Linked DNA regions of Homo sapiens: region 2 is linked to region 1. The links are contacts of gene promoters, found by promoter capture Hi-C in blood cells and fetal thymus (Javierre and others, 2016). All regions are on one chromosome and are shown on one strand. Each heading gives the region's core, a stretch centred on a gene start or on the middle of the fragment in contact. The rest is flanking DNA. Distances are from core to core; before and after follow the strand shown.

Region 1 (7,956 bases), core at 1,967-4,466:
CCGTACTGTGTGCAGAATAGATTTTGTTACGAATCACCTGTAAGCAAAGTGAAGATGTAACACTTCAACCCTAAATACTTCAGAAATTTATGACATGCCATTTTTTAACACAATTAAAATATATAAATCTGTGTTTTATTTTTAAATTTGAATTCAGGCAAACTATGTTTGTTAGACTGCAAAACCTATTTTTGAGATAGTATGGATTGACTATAAGGATATTTTAAATGATATGACTGCTTTCAATGATCTGAGAAAGATTTTAAATGGTCAGACTAATATAAATATTAACATTTTCAATGGTATGACATTTAGAAAACATTTTTTAACGTTCTTAGAAATGTATTTTTAGTTGGGTTTAGAAATCTATTTTCAAAAAACTGTGAGTTAGCTAAATGTATCTGTATATACCCTGACATATCTATTTTTCCAAACTGTATACGTTAACTATCCATTTTTAATTATTCTGCTTAGCTTAAATATTTTTTAAAATTGCCTAACTTAGAAAATAATTTTCTAAAGTGGTCTGATTCAGAGATGCACTTTTAAAAAGCTTCCCGTCTCAGATACTAGGTTTTTAAACTGTCTGACTTAATCGGGAAAAAAAAAAAAACCCTCATGTTACCCAAAGGTTCAGGGTATTTTGAACCTTAATGATTAAAAATTGAAAAATAAACAATATGTTTTTCAATTAAAACTGATACCTTAGAAATCTTAATATGAGTTTCAGTAGTTTTTGAGGCAGCACAAAATCAAGTCATTTAAGGAACATGCAGTTCTTATTTAACATTACTGAAGTTCCATTAAGGAATTGAATTCATCCAATTTCTACTCGATTTCTTGGATTATTTCTTCTTCAAAATTAGCGCTAGAATTAGCCTGTTTCTATGCTACCAGACATCTTTACATTTATTTCAATATAATGTAATTCCTTTCCGTTTATAAATGTAAAAAAAACCCTTCAACTTCTTAATTAACTGAAATCTCACACACACTCTGTCCCTAGTTCTAGGCTGTTTGACCTGAGTTTACATGCTTTTATTCCTGAAACCGCTCACACGGCTTAAAATGACTTTTCTATCAGTTATATGGCCAAAGACATTCTCCACCTGTGACTTACAAAAAGGAGAAACTGTCTTTGTAGACATGATAATCATGACATATGGCAAAATTTTCCTGAAGCATTTAGATAAAGCCATAAAGAAAAAAATAAACTGGCAATACAGTCCCTAAGAGGTGAAATGAATGTTCCAAAATTGCCTAATATCAAGTATAACCCCCAAGAATGTGGTCCTGGGATGGCTATTTCCCGCCTGTTCCAACGCTGCTTCTATTCCAACCTAGTCTGCCTACAGCAGGTAGCCTGAACTACAGCCAGTTTCATAACTTCACTTTTCAATTGAAGACATTACAGAGCTAACGATCACTGTCTGGTATAGATCATCCAGACTCGCCCCTTATTTAACAGAGCAGTAAACTGAGGCTCAGAAAGGGAAAAGTAGCCCCCATTAAAAACAAACCCCAAACAGTAATTTTTCCAGGACCACCCTTAAAAAACGCTACTGCTAGGCTAACTAAAGGTTGTGGTTAATTAAAAAAAAAAAGTGCTATTTTACGGGGTTAATTTTCACATATACCTCCTCAGGCTTTTTTTAAAAAGTTCGAATGGAGAGGAAAGCTTAATTTCCTGTCTGGGAAATGGAAAGTGAAGAGGCTAGCACCTTGAGTCTCACAAACGCAAGCCCCCAGGAAGAACAGTGAGGCAATTATTCACAGGGAACAAGGCCACACAGAGGGCTGCGGGGCCGTTAAAAGAAAACGGGCGGAAAAACAAAACAAAACAAAACAACAACACAACTCCCTCCTCTTTGAGGGGAGGGAGTCGTTCATTTTGCAAGGATTTGGGTCTACGATCCGGCGACCCAGCCCTTAGGACCAAACTGAGGCTCATTACTGGGGGGAGGGGAGCTTCAAACAAAACGAAACAAAAAGGCTTCAGAAAGGCCCAATGCTTCCCAATGTTAGCGTTAAAACATATGTAAATTACAGGCGGCCTGTAGCGCAGTGACGCCAAGGCGGGGGGTGCGGGGGGGGGGGTGCTGCGGAAGTGAGGAGAAGACCGGGCAGAGGTGGAGCTGCGGCCTCACAGCACCGCTTCTTCCTCATCCAGGGCTACAGATGCCCCCTGACTCTAGCCAAGAGATCTTATTATTCTTAGTCTTATTATTCTTATCTTCTCTTTTTAAACAGAGAGACAGACAGAGACAGACAAACAGGCAGAGCCGCAGTGCACACGGTCCGTGTGTCGGAGAGGCCGCCAGGAGACTCACCGCAGCAATGCTACGTGAATGCAGAGGGCTGGAGGTGATGTGACTACTCACTTGCTCGGCTAACAGCTGCCGGTTTTGGATGGAATTATTCCGCAACAACAAGAAAGCGTCGGTTAAACGCCTGGTGGCCATGTCTCACCCTTTGCGACCCCCCTCTCAGGGGCCCCCCGCCCACTTATATTCCTGATTTATTCACTTTCTTTCTCGTGGCCCGGCTGGCCCACCCTTTCACGGAAGCTTCTCGACAAGGCCTCAGGCCTCAAGCCAAAAAGATGCAGCTGTGCGCTTCGCCAAGGCGTAGAGACCCCTCCCCAAATAACTACCTAGGCTTTCCAATTGTCTGACTCCCCCTACCCAGGGCAGACTTCGATCTCTAAGCACTTGAATCCCCCCAATCCTTGCGTAGCGATCCAACGTCCCAGAGACCCCACCCCAATCCAACCTTGGATCTACAAGCGTCTAACTCGCCAATCCGGCTCTAGACTGGGAGGCCCTGAAGCCCCCTACTCCCTGAGACCCCCCGGAGGTCTCTGCTCTCTACCCCTAACTTTGGCTCGTAAGCGTCTAGGCCGTGCCCTGAGGTCTGGCTGTGACTCAGTTTCCGCACCAGAGGCCTGGCCTAGGCCCTCTTTGGACAACCGGAGCCAGGCTTGGGGCCTGGACTCGAGGGCGCCTGCAGCTCCCTTCTGGGGACTTGTCTGAACCTGCTGAGGCCCTGCCCGACCTCCTGACCCCTTCCTTTCCTGGACGGCCTGGTCCTCCACTGCCAGCAGGCTGCCGGCCTGCAGGAAGACAGCAGGGCCTGCCTCCCCGGCCTTCTCACTCCTCTTCTCCGGCTCCCTCCATCCCCGGATCTGACTGCAGCTCAGCCCCGGACCGTTTCCGTGCTGTGGTCCCGGGTTCTGGCGTTCCCCCCTGGCCCTCTTCCTGTCCGTCCCTCGCGAGTGCCCCCCTGCGACGCTCGCAAGCCTTGCTCGCAACGTTCCGGGCGCGGGAGCTCCCTGCACTCCTGCCCCGGGGCACGGGAGTGCTCCGCCCTCTCCCGGGGTGCTCCTCGGGCGCCCTGTTTCGCCTCCCCCAACTGGGTCCAGGCACTAGGAGCAGGCCAACGAGCAGGCCTGAGCCTGGGGAGCGTGGCCCCCAGGCTGCAAACCGCTGCCAGGGCCCTTGGTCGCTGAATTAGAGTGGAAGTTGCGCGGCAGGCAAATTTGGGCTCCCCAAGAACTGAAGTTTTGGGCGCGGGGAGTTGGAGCGGGAGAGGAAAAGTTGGAGACGACTGCCTCTGCAGGCCGAGCACGCTCTACTGCAGGCGGCGGCGCTCGCTTTTTTTTTTTTTTTTCCCACTCTGGAAAAAGATGTATCCGACAAACAACCACGAGGAAATAAAAGGAAAAAAAAAAAAAAAAAAGGAACAAGAACTCCAGGCAGCCTGGCCGCGCCGCCGCTGGCAGTCGGGGGTCGTCGGGGGCGCCCGCCCTCCCCAGCTGCCGCTTTCTGTAGGGGGCACTGCAGGGTCGTGGAATCTCAAGTGGAAAAGTTCCCCGAAAACTTTGACACCTCCCACCCCCCTCCCCGCGAAAAAAATCTCTGTTCCCTGCCTGGGCCCTGGCCCTGCGACCCCCGCGCCCCCCCGTGCCCCGGGCCGGGTTTTCCACGGTTGGCCGGGCCCAGGGCGCCCTAAGCACCTCGACTTGCCGCCCCGGGCCAGGTCGGCGGGGTTCGTGCAGGGGCTCCGTGGGGCCGCGTCGGGCAGGGGCCGCCCGGGCCCGAGCACGGCACCCACAAACAGGCTGGCGTCCCGCGACGGAGACCCGGGTCCGGCCCGGAGCCGCCCGGGAGGCTTGAGGCCAAGGGCCTGGCCCAGCGCGCGGCCGGAGCGGGTCGGGGGCGCAGAGCTGTGCGGCGGCGCCTTCCGGGCCCCGGGCCTGTGCAGGGCCGGCTTCCCCTTGCGGGGCGAGGCTGCGGGCCGGGCTGCGGTGCGGGGTTCCAACAAAGGACCGAGGCCCCAGAAGCGGCCCCCACGCGTCCTTTGTTTCTGCGTGGAACAAACTTTACACACGTGTGTGTTTTCCGAGGGTTTCCCGTGTGCTGAGCGCTTGCAAAGCGGAGTCGCGCCCGGGGAGACGCGAAGCCGGTGCCCGCGGCTCACCCAGGGACCCCAGCCAGACAGCGGCACCCGCGGGGCGCGTGCGGGACCCCCAGGCGACCGGGGGAAGCACCGGTAACCGCCCCCCACCCGTGCTTTTTCTCTCACGGAGAATGTTCCCGCGCGTTCGTTGTGCAACTAAAAATTAATGTGAAACATCCATTGAGGCAAATAACAAAATGCATCCAACGAAACCCACATAAAATCGAGAGAGCCGCGAGCAGGGCTGGGCGAGTTCACTGTGAGGACCGGCTCTGGCTTCCGCGCAGCGCGGAGAGCAGGGCGCTCGCCCGGGGACGCTTCGCAGCGGTGGAAGATTCGGGCGACAGGGGACTGGGTCGCCGCGCGGGCCGGGCTGGAGGCTGCAGGGACTTGCTGACAGGCCATCCAAAGACAGAGAGGCCCTGGGGAGGGAAATTCGGGGAGCCCGTGTGCTTAGCGTAGCGCCCCGGGAAATATTTGCCCAATAAGGGAGAGTTTGTCCCCACACTGCGGCAGAACCCCCCTGCGAGCTCTGACCCCAGCAGCACGGCCAAGCCCCCCCAACCCCGCTCCCCCCTTTAGGGGACAGGTATTTGTAAATAACAACTGAGCTGGTCGTCGGTAGGAGAATCAGATTAGAAACATGGTCCCCACTCTCTTCCTATCTCCCCAGCACTCATCACCTCACAAAGCAGGGGGGGACCTGTTTACTTTTCCTGGCGCTCTCCCCCAGGCTAGAACGTGATCTTCTTCCTACGCAGGGACAGTGTTTTATTCATCTTTGTACCCACTGCCATCTCATCTGGCTTGGAACAGGCTCCGGATAAATATTTTTTAAATATGTGCATGAATTAATGAGAGACTCGAGATTTAGTCCCCAAACTCTCTGACCTCCCTCGAGTGACTTTAAGCCTTTAGAGCCCTTATCTGTTAAGAAAAAAAGAAAAAAATGTGGGTTTTTCGTAATCCTCGTAATCCGCGCCCTGTCTACTTCTCTGGGGTTATTGTGAAGATCAAATAAGGTAAGTGAAAACTCTTTGTAAACTACCAGGTGCTGAGCAAATATTATATAGGATGGTTATTCATTCATTCCCTCCGTTCAGGAAGCTTAGCAAAGTAATTCCTGGTCTTGTGTTTCAGCAGATGGTGGTCGCCTTTCCTGGTCAGTCTTAAATATTTATTACAGGACAATCTCATTCTTACATTTAGGAGATCAATCAAGCTTCCATTTCTTTGAGCGAAATGAACACTGCTTGCACACAAATAATGGAAGAAAAATCCTGGTATTCCCAAAACAGCCACCCCAAGCAACCCAAGAGCCTAACAGCGGGGAGGTCAGGAAAATCCAAGAAGTTGGCATAGCAGCCCAAAGGCAGCACCGTGCAGCTCTGACCAGGCCCCAAAGGCAGCACCGTGCAGCTCTGACCAGGCCCCAAAGGCAGCACGGTGCAGCTCTGACCAGGCCCCAAAGGCAGCACCGTGCAGCTCTGACCAGGCCCCAAAGGCAGCACCGTGCAGCTCTGACCAGGCCCCAAAGGCAGCACCGTGCAGCTCTGACCAGGCCCCAAAGGCAGCACCGTGCAGCTCTGACCAGGCCCCAAAGGCAGCACCGTGCAGCTCTGACCAGGCCCCAAAGGCAGCACCGTGCAGCTCTGACCAGGCCCCAAAGGCAGCACGGTGCAGCTCTAAGCAGGCTGTGTTTAGGTATGGGATTGTGTGCCTGAAATAGTGTTAACCAAGAGGGAGCCCAGAGAGGGCATGCACCCCTGGCTCCAGTCACGTCCATGGTCCATGTTCGCCCTGACCCACACTGGAAGGGAGTTGGGGAAGGATGTAAATCATTATATTTGAATGTTCCTTGGCTGTTTTATTTTCCTGTCAAGTGACTTAAGCTTGATTTTTTTTTTTTTTTAAAGCATTCCCCCATGGCCAAGTATGTGTTTCCTTGGAATTGAAATCTAGGTTGATGGTTTTACATTTTAAAAGCTTTCATTGTGACTCATTCTTGGCCTGGGCTAGGATTCGGTAATACTCCTCGGGCTTGGTGAGGCTCCGTGTCCTGTTTCTTGGGCTTCATACCCACTTTCTAACATTCTGCCAACGAATCCAATAAGTCACTTTTGGGGACAAGTGTTTCATTGTTTTCTTGTCATCTCATTCAGTGCAGGAGGAAGCCCCATTGAAGCCAGGCCATGGCTTGGGCAGGTGCAGGTTTTCAAGTACTGAGAGGGGATGGTTAGCTCAACAGGTCAGCAGTGGGACACACACCCTTTGGTGAAAACAATTTAAATGAGATAGGGCTCATGTAAGCCCTTATACAACCTCAGCATAGAGTAAGTGCGCCACAAATGGGCAATATGATTTATTACAGCAGTAGTCTTACTGTTGGAAAGCTCACGTGGGCTCTGCTCTCCCTGGAAGGCATCATAAACTCCAAAGAGAATGGCATGGTATTGAGAACTGAACACTTGGAAATCTAAGCACGTTTCCGAGCTTCTTGTTCTGGACCTTGGGAATCCAGATGTGTCTGCAGTGCACACTCATGTGGAAGAGGGGGCTAAACCATCTCAAAGACACCTTTTAACATTGGTCTTTCTCCCACCTATAGAAAGACAGATGGTTGTTTGCTTATCAAGCAGCAAAAGCCCCCAGGCCTAACATATGTCTCGTCTGCACAGATCTGACAGACAGATTCGGGCCAGGTTCGGGTAACAGGAGTTGTGTGTTCTGTGTCCCCAAATAGTTCCTCAAAACCTTGAGTATTTCCAACAACAGAAAACTCCCTATCTGGGTCTGTCTTCAGCTATGATGCCTCTCCCAAGAAGGGAGACTCTGGAGAGAGGCAACACTTTTGTTTTGTCTGGAGTCCCGTAGCTTTTAATACCAGACAATTCAATACAGTAGGCATTTCTAAAAATCTACCAGTGGCTGTGCCTATCTCTTGCCAGGCACTGCTGAAAGAATGAAACAGCAAAACTCTTGCCTTCAGGGAATTTGCATCTCCACTGTCTCTACCCAAATTCTGGTTCTCATCGTGTACATTTTCCCAGCAGCCTGCTAACAACCACCCGTCTCTTCCCTCCTCATCCTGCAGCCACAGTGACCTTTCCAAAGCATAAATCTGATCATGTCACTGCCTGATTGAGGCCCTGAAACAGCTCCCTCTGGCCCATGCCAGCCGATCTCAAATGACGCTCAGCAGAAAACAGGTGCTCTAAGTTGAACCAAGCTGGGCATCACTAATATTAACTAATGATGGACTTTTCTTGGTTGTCAGAAAAAAAAAAATGAAGCTAATTAATGGAGTAGTCTCCATCTTAAGTGTTTCTCTTCTCGCTTTCTCTTAAACCTTCAGTCCCTGCCACCACTTGGCTGTATTAGAATATAGTATAAGACTAGATCTGATTTATTCCAGAATCATGGATTTCAGTACAATTTTTTTCCCATAGATCAGTATTTCCTGGAGTTCTGCATTTAGGTTTTCTACACTTTCCACAT
Region 2 (7,956 bases), core at 1,645-4,144, 1.3 Mb after region 1:
AGAATTCCTCTGACTGCTCCTATCATCATGGCCCCTAGCCATAATATGATTTATCCCCACACTAGCAGAAACTAACTGAGCCTCTTTTGATCTAACAAAAGGAGAGTCAGAGTTAGTCTCAGGCTTCAACATCGAATATGCCGCAGGCTCATTTGCCCCCTTCTTTATAGCAGAATACATGAATATTATCATAATAAATGCCCTAACTACTACTATTTTCCTAGGAGCACTACACACTGTATATTTACCAGAACTCTATACCACAAATTTAATTACCAAGACCCTTCTAAACCACTCTCTTCTTACAAATTCGAATGGCATAACCCCAATACCGCTAAGACCAACTCGTACATCTTTTATGAGAAAACTCCTACCACTTACATTAGCATTTTGCAGATGCTATATCTCAATGCTTGTCCTAATTTCCAGCATCCCACCCCAAACATAGGAAATATATCTGACAAAACAATCACCATACGTTAATGCAACATGCTGAGCGCAAAGGTTGCACCCTATAGGATTTATTTAGATGATACTCTTGTAAAAGCAAAACTATAGGGACAAAAAAAACAGATGAGTAGTTTCCAGGGGCTGCGAGCTGGGAAGGATTTGACGACAAAAGGAAGGAAGAGAATTTGGAGGCCGATGGATCTGTTCTATATCTAGAACACAACTCTATGCATTTCTTAACACTCACAGAGCTGTATACCAAAAAGGTTCAGTTTTACAGCAGGCAAATCAGACTCAATAAACCTGACTAAAGGAACAGGTACAAGGCCTCGGAAGGGGCCTCAAGGCTTAGCTTCTTCAGCACTGCAGTGTGTCTGCCTGTCACCAGGCCCCTTAACATTCTCACTACTGTTGGGTTCAGCCACCAGCAGCAATGGCAGGAGAAGGGAGGAGAGAGGCTGGGGTGTTCAACCCCTGGCTCCCCTCGCCAGGCCGAGGCCCGTCTACAGCTGTTCATCCCCTGGCTCTCCCGCGCCAGGTGGAAGCCCCTCTACAGCTGCAGCTCATGCTGTGCTCCAGGAGGCCCGCCCACTGCAGCTTGGCACCGGTGTTTCACCTTCCCTGCTGGCTTCTTCATAAATTATCCCTTAATCATTAAACTCTCCTCAATCACACACACAAAATTTAATACAAGAAAAGCTTTCAAAGAAAGTGGCTAACTAAAGCCAACATTAAGAACATCAATAAATGACTATATTTATGTTCAGAAACTTAGAATTCCTACAATATGAACACATATATGCTATTTGTGTTTGGATTATTAAATATTCTAAATCATTCTGTACTTTAAGTAAAATGGAACACGAGAAATGGAAGGGAACGTACGTCACTCCAGCAGACATCAAGCACAGGCCCAGTGTGCATCTGCTGGGCTTTTGGAATGGTCTGTCCACTGTCTTGAACTTCCCAGCAGCGAACCTGTAGTAACAAAAAAATTCAATGCAAACAAAGCAATTACGATGTATTGCTTGCATTTAACACCTAAAAACTAATGGGGTACACCTTAACCATACATAGACTTCTCATAGCAACCTAATTATCTAACTTCAAGAACAAAGGAATTAAAATATCTATGAAAGCAACTGTTTTCTTCGCCTAAGCTATTAAAATAAACAAATTCTATTGCTTACACATAAAATTGCAGATAATTTTCTCAATGCATCTATGAGATATGTCTTTTAAAGTAGAATATCACTTACCCATTACCATTCAGAGAATCAAGACCAAAGTAGAAACTTACCTCTTTTCTGAATACTTTATATAATCTCCCCTCCGTTAAAAAAGTAATACATTTTAGAGATTTTGTAAATATGGCAAAAAAATAAAAATCACCCTAATCACACCACAGACAACCACAGCTAATGGTTCTGTGTGCTCTTAGTCTTCTTTCCATGTACGCATATTTTCTGGAAGACACTAGATTATACAGTGTCTTCACTTTTGCAGCTACAGCTTTCCTCACCTGCATCACTAGCCTGTTCAACTTGAAACATCCTTTTTTTAAGCAGCAAATAATCTGAAATCTTTCTAAAAATTACATGTAGAAAGCAAGCTTGCTCAACCTTGACTACCATCCTCCCTCCTGTTCTCCTAACCCCTGCTGCCCCTGTGCTGTAGGCTACAGTTCAAAAGCTTTTCCAAAAACTTACAATGGTATTCCATCATACAAACATACTATACATTGCCATTACTACTGGATATTAAAATTTTCAAAATTTTCACAAGTTCACAGTGCTTTGGCTGTTATAAAGGTTAATTTAGATAATGCAGATGAAGTACATTATCAGATTTCCTACTCAAGTCCCAGAAGGGTATCAGTGAGATAAAGGGTATAAGCTGAAGGATTTTTGATAACTATTGCCAATTATCCTGTGGAAAAGCCAACTTACATACCTACCAGCCATACATGCAGGGTTTCAGCTTATCCTTGCTGGCACTATTATTCTTTTAAACTTTTAATTTTGTTAATTTAATAAAAAAAAGTCTTAAATTTGCATTTATCTGATTACAAGCATGGATGAATGGTTCAGGTTTATTCTTTCTTTTGTGAAGTCCCTCTTTACACCCTTTGCTTATTTTTCTACCAGAGTTTTCTTTCTTTTAGTAAACTGTAATTTTTTTGTCTTTCTTTTTGTACATGATGAGTAAGTATCTAGGCAAATCTGTGCTATTATTTAACGTTGAAAAAGTTTCATACATGCCTGAGGAACACTGTCAGGATGCCAAGAAAGGGAATTTGTTGGTGTGTGCCACTGGGTATAATGTTCACTCTGGATGAATATGATATTTGATTTGGGAATAAACTTCAAGAGACTGAACTAAAGTAGAAAATTTCGAGCAACACATATGATTGTGCTTTCCTAACAAAAACGGGTGTAAGAATAATGTCTGCCATTCAGAAGGGTTCACACCCCCTAAATTGATTTCTCAAAAAAGGCCATAAATAAGTCCAACTGATTCATTTACTTGGGAAACAACGGAGCTAAAGCTAACCTTGGCCATACAAAGAGAGATGATTTCTAGAACACGTATTTAAGGAGCACTTACATCATTAGCCCATGATCCTGCAATAAGAAAGTTCCCCGGCAAGGTTGGTGGGCTAAAAGACAGACAACCAATGCTATCATCAGGAGATGATGTTACTTCAATATCCTGCGGGAAAAAAGTCAATGTTAAAATGTATGCACGCTCACAACTTCATTCCAAATTGTTTTCTTTCTCACTAATTACCTCACGGTGGCCTTTCCTTGTGTACAAGAACTAACTGAATTAGACCTTTCCTTACTTTGATCAAAGACAGGAGTAAAAAATAAGCTAGAGAAAGTACCAGCACCACCAGGACTAGCAGTAGCAGCTGCTAATGAAATGCCCATGGTCTTGTTTTCTAAATGACCAGTTCACTCTGGCCCCACAGTGCTAGATCACAGTTTTCACCTGCCATCCCCTCTCTCCAACCATGGGAATTCTGAGTCAACAGTCCTGGCTGGGCCAGGCCCTGGGAATCTGCACCGGAATCTGCACCTTGGGTGATTCTGGAGACCTGGCAGGCCAGGAAGAACAGGACACAAGTACGGGGACACATTTTCTGTGCTCCAGTGTTTCAGAAACATGAGTTAGACAAAGTTTCAAAGCTTTCAGCCTAAAGGAGGCTCCCAAGTCATCTCGGGTTCTGTCCTTGATGGGAGAAACTCTGCCCAAACTCTTCCTACAAGCCCCAGGAAGCTTTTCGTGGTACCTTCATGGGATTGTGATTGTCTGTAGTTGCACTGCCAAACATGCTGGTCCCACTGGTTCCAAAACCTGAGGTTGTTCCAAACAGGCTCATTTTGAACCTAAAAAGTAATGAAAAATGTTAAGGATGGGTTTTCTCTTAATATCACTGAGAGGCAATGGTAAGATAATTAACTGGCAGAAGAGAAATACTCAAAGTGGCTTGAGGCCAGGCTTCACTTTTCAGACAAGAGCGCAATGAGCAGAGTGCTTTCAAAACATAAACCTTCTATTTTAGAGTAGTTTTAGGTTTCCAGAAATAGTAAAGATAGAATTCCCATACACTCCATATCTAGTTTCCCCTATTATCTCATATTAGTACGGTTCATTTGTTACCATTAATAAACCAGTATGGATACATTGCAGATTATTTTGTAGGCACCAGCTAGAAAATAAATTCACTCATTTTTTACATAGAGACCCTGAGCTGCGCAGCAGGAATATAACAGTAAACAAGATCGCAGGTCCCCGTGCTTTCAGGTTTCCACCTAGTGGGCATTCACTTTCCTACTAATTTCTACATTCTAGTTTAGGTCAGCATCCGCATGAAACTACCTAGAACAACCAGTCCGGGAAGCGAATCAGCAATTTCTTCGTAAAAGTTTTAAAAAGGTCGGGCATCGTGTTTTGGACATTTACCCAGCAAGAACCTCTCCCACCCTGGGTTTTTTCTTGAATATCATAATCTAACAGGCCCACCAGGGTTTGGTCAGGGCCTCTTGCCACTCAGGAGTTGGGACTCTAATCTCACCAGTCTTCATTTTCCTGCTCTGCAAACATAGAGAACATTAACACATTCTCCAGGGCTGCTCTGGGGATCAAATCAGATTATGTAGAAAATGCAGTATCTAGTTCATAGTGGGTACAATAAACGACTTTTCCCTTCTTTTTTCCTTCCAACTCCCCGAGGAGTTACGTACACTGAAACCACATTTCAATCCTACTACCTGTTACGCTGAAAAGTCCTCCATACCAGTCACCTCTCCAAAGGGAGCCAAATGGCTGAGTGACATCCTTGCTAACAAGACAACACAGAACGGAGAAACTGCAAGGAATTTGGGGAAGGCATTTGAGTTTCCTCAGCTTCATGAAAAATAAGTGCAGAACAAAAGGTCAGAGCAACAGCTACAAGCACATGTACATTTTAGTGAACGTGAGGGGATGTGGTCCTTGCCGGCCACACTTCTGCCCTCAAATGCAGAGGTACTTGAAACACCAGTTGGCTGTATGAACGAACAAAGGCATGACAAGGCTTCTGCAATCAGTCCAGGTGCTGGTTACACGGCTTTGGACGGGTCACTTAACCTTGATTTTCTCATCTGTAAAACAGAGACACTAATATCTACTTCACAGAGTTATGAGAACTAAATGAAGCCACACACACACACTGCCTAAAGCACTACAGGTTCTTAATAAATATTACTTTCACTCTATTCCTCTACCTCAACCTTCAAGTTGGGAGAGAACATTTCTGCCATTAGGGATGAACTTAGGAAAAAGAACATGGTAGGTGAGAATCGTTCGTGTTAGTCAGTGTGGACCACACCTTATGCTGAGCACTGGGAAGCTTCCAAAGTTCAGAAGGCACAGTCATCTGTGGGACCCACCTAATCTCTTCCCGCTCTCTCCCGCCTTGCTGCACCCCAGCCCTCCTAGCTCTGCTGGCTTCCTTTCTCCGCTGAACACAACAAGCTCATCCCTGCCTTGGAGCAAACCTAGTGCTGTTCCTTCAGCTTGGGATGATTTGCTTCTCCCTCCCCACAGCTACCTCCGTTTGAATCTTCATATCCCAGTTCAAAAGTTGCCTCCTCCGAACTTCTTGGGGTGATGAAAATGTCCCAAATTTGAACTTGCCATGTTTACGCAACTGCATAAAATTTCCAAACTCACAATATACACTTTCAATGGTTGAAATTAATGTTATTTTATACTTCAATAAAGCTGTCACACGTATTCTTTTTTAAAGTCACCTCCTCAGACGCTTCTTTGCCAACTTTAACATATCTAATCTTCCATCACATCCCCTGGAATTTCTTGTTTACACTCAAAATCTCTTCCCCCCCAGAATGCTGGCTCCAAGAGGGCAGCCACTTGCCTGGATTCTTCCCTTAATGCATACTGGGTCCCACAGTACAATGCCTGGCCCAGGGCGGCTGGTGTTTAATACTACTTGCCTGGAGAAGTACTGCCTGTACGGTGGCACCTATATACGTATACAATAAATACTTGGCGGGCTAAGACAGAAACAGACTTAGTTTCAGAGACTGGTAACTGCTACGAAAGAAATGGAGCAGGTTGACGTGGAAGAGGCTAAAAGGGGACGCCCTTCTGCAAAGCGGCCAGGGAAAGCTTCTCCCAGGAGCTGACATGTATCTGACGAGACGCCAGACGTGTAAGGGGGAGGGACAGAGGCGACACACACTGCATTAACGCAATGTGACCCTTCCCAGAGGCTCAGTTCCCCCACAAGAGAAACGATGGATTAGGCCCTAGGTGACCCCTAAGGCCATTTCCAGCTCTGACCTCGCTTCCAGGGCCCAGTAACGAAGCTTAGTCAACAGTCCCGCTCGCGCCCCAGCATCCCGCAGAAGCGCGCTCCCGGGAGGCAACTCGGCCTCTGCGGGAGCCATGGCGGCGGTTAACGACGGGACGCGCGCGGCACGGGGCCTACCTGGGGGTCTCGCCCCGGCGGAAAGCGGCGGCCGGGAGCAGAAGGGTCTGAGGAGTTTGCGAACCTGCTCTGGCGCGAAGGACGAGGGCCAGGAGCGCGGACAGAAATCCCAGGAGCCCGAAGCCTCCTTAAGCCTGCGGTAGAAACTGCCCTGACTACCGCGGAAACAACGCGCGTGCGCCCTGGAGCCACTTCCTGCGTCGCCCGGAAATCGTCGAAGAAAAAGGCTCCTTTTCCCGCAAGGCGACAGCACATGCGCAAAAACGCTTTACACCAGCAGTTTGCGAATTGGTCCAAAGTTGATGTAGCCGCTGCAAGTTACTAAGCGACTGCTTTTATAAATCCGCAACTGGCCAGGCGCGGTGGCTCACGCCTGTAATCCCAGCACTTTGGGAGGCCGAGGCGGGCTGATCACCTGGGGTCAGGAGTTCAAGACAAGTCTGGCCAACATCGTGAACCGCCCCGCCCCCCGCCCCCCCCGCCCCCCCGCGCCGCCCCCCCCCGCCCCCCGCCCCCGTCCCCCCGCCCCCCCCGCCCCCCCCGCCCCCCGTCCCCCCGCCCCCCCGCCCCCCCGTCCCCCCGTCAGTACTAAAAATACAAAAATTAGCCGGGCATGGTGGCGGGTGCCTGTAATCCCAGCTGCTTGGGAGGCTAAGGCAGGAGAATCGCTTGAACCCAGGAGGTGGAGGTTGCAGTGAGCCGAGACCATGCCATTGCACTCCAGTCTGGACAACAAGAGCGAAACTCCATCTCAAATCAGTCAATCAATCCGCAACTAGGGCTAGTGCAAGGTAGCTAGCTGTTTTCTCTTGTGAATTAATTATTGCATTTATCATGTATAAACATCTAAAAGATTCTGATTGCTTCCAATTCACGTCCAAGGCCAACCTCCGAGAAGCTGCTCTAACGCTGCCTCCGAACAAGGCGAGGTCGGCCGCGGGTTTCCCGCCCTGGCCTCTCCCTGTTTGCCCACTGGGGTACCCTGAGCCCACCTCGGGGCTCTTTGGGCCTCAGTTTCCTGCTGCATGGTGGGGAAAATGATGCCAGGGCTGTTCCTAATTAGGGTCAAGTGAAATCATACGTGAACTACTCTTACTAATAGAACTGTCTGTAGAAATGTTAAGGGATTCTTATTACTCACACACGCCCACTCCAAATATTTCAGTTGGTTGTTTCCTCCCAACCCCTACTTTTAGGAGCATCTGAAGAAGGAAGTGAAGGAAAAGACAGATCACAAGGAAGGGATTTCGTGAGGTTATGTAGCTACCCTGGATTCTCTCCTTCACTACTCAGTGTGGTCTGCGTGCCTTGACCTTCTTAAGGAGGTTTAGGATCTGGGGTATCTTTTTATAAAATGCAGATTCAGTAGGTCTACGATGGGCCTAAAAATCCACATTTCTACCAAATTCCCAGCAGAGGTTGCTGGGCCGTGAACCAGAGTTAAGTACCAAGGCTGTAGATCATTTGGAATCCTGGGCAGCTTTTTAAAAACTGTGATGTTTACA

The links. The method cuts DNA at HindIII sites, captures the fragments that hold promoters and counts their contacts. A CHiCAGO score of 5 or more calls a contact.
Region 2: a fragment that was not itself captured here is called in contact with the fragment with the promoter of STX16-NPEPL1 in region 1 in 1 of 17 cell types (total B cells); the score reaches 5.4 in total B cells.

Annotation. Positions count from the first base shown.
Region 1 is chr20:58,646,513-58,654,468 of GRCh38, reverse strand. It overlaps STX16-NPEPL1 (STX16-NPEPL1 readthrough (NMD candidate)), which reads right to left and starts at 3,216. Exons shown (of 23, transcript NR_037945.1): 1 at 2,331-3,216. It overlaps STX16 (syntaxin 16), which reads right to left and starts at 3,186. Exons shown (of 9, transcript NM_001001433.3): 1 at 2,331-3,186. The coding sequence starts at 2,462. LOC107985410 (a long non-coding RNA gene) reads left to right here and starts at 4,834. Exons shown (of 3, transcript XR_005647058.2): 1 at 4,834-5,480. RefSeq lists enhancers at 1,817-2,320, 2,158-2,427, 5,457-5,994 and silencers at 3,924-4,283, 6,682-6,976. The HindIII fragment of the contact is 2,998 bases long and covers 2,570-5,567 here.
Region 2 is chr20:57,349,918-57,357,873 of GRCh38, reverse strand. It overlaps RAE1 (ribonucleic acid export 1), which reads right to left and starts at 6,619. Exons shown (of 12, transcript NM_003610.4): 1 at 6,452-6,619; 2 at 3,746-3,842; 3 at 3,058-3,162; 4 at 1,336-1,428. The coding sequence starts at 3,835. It also overlaps the pseudogene MTND1P9. RefSeq lists enhancers at 6,150-6,229, 6,420-6,988. The HindIII fragment of the contact is 1,499 bases long and covers 2,145-3,643 here.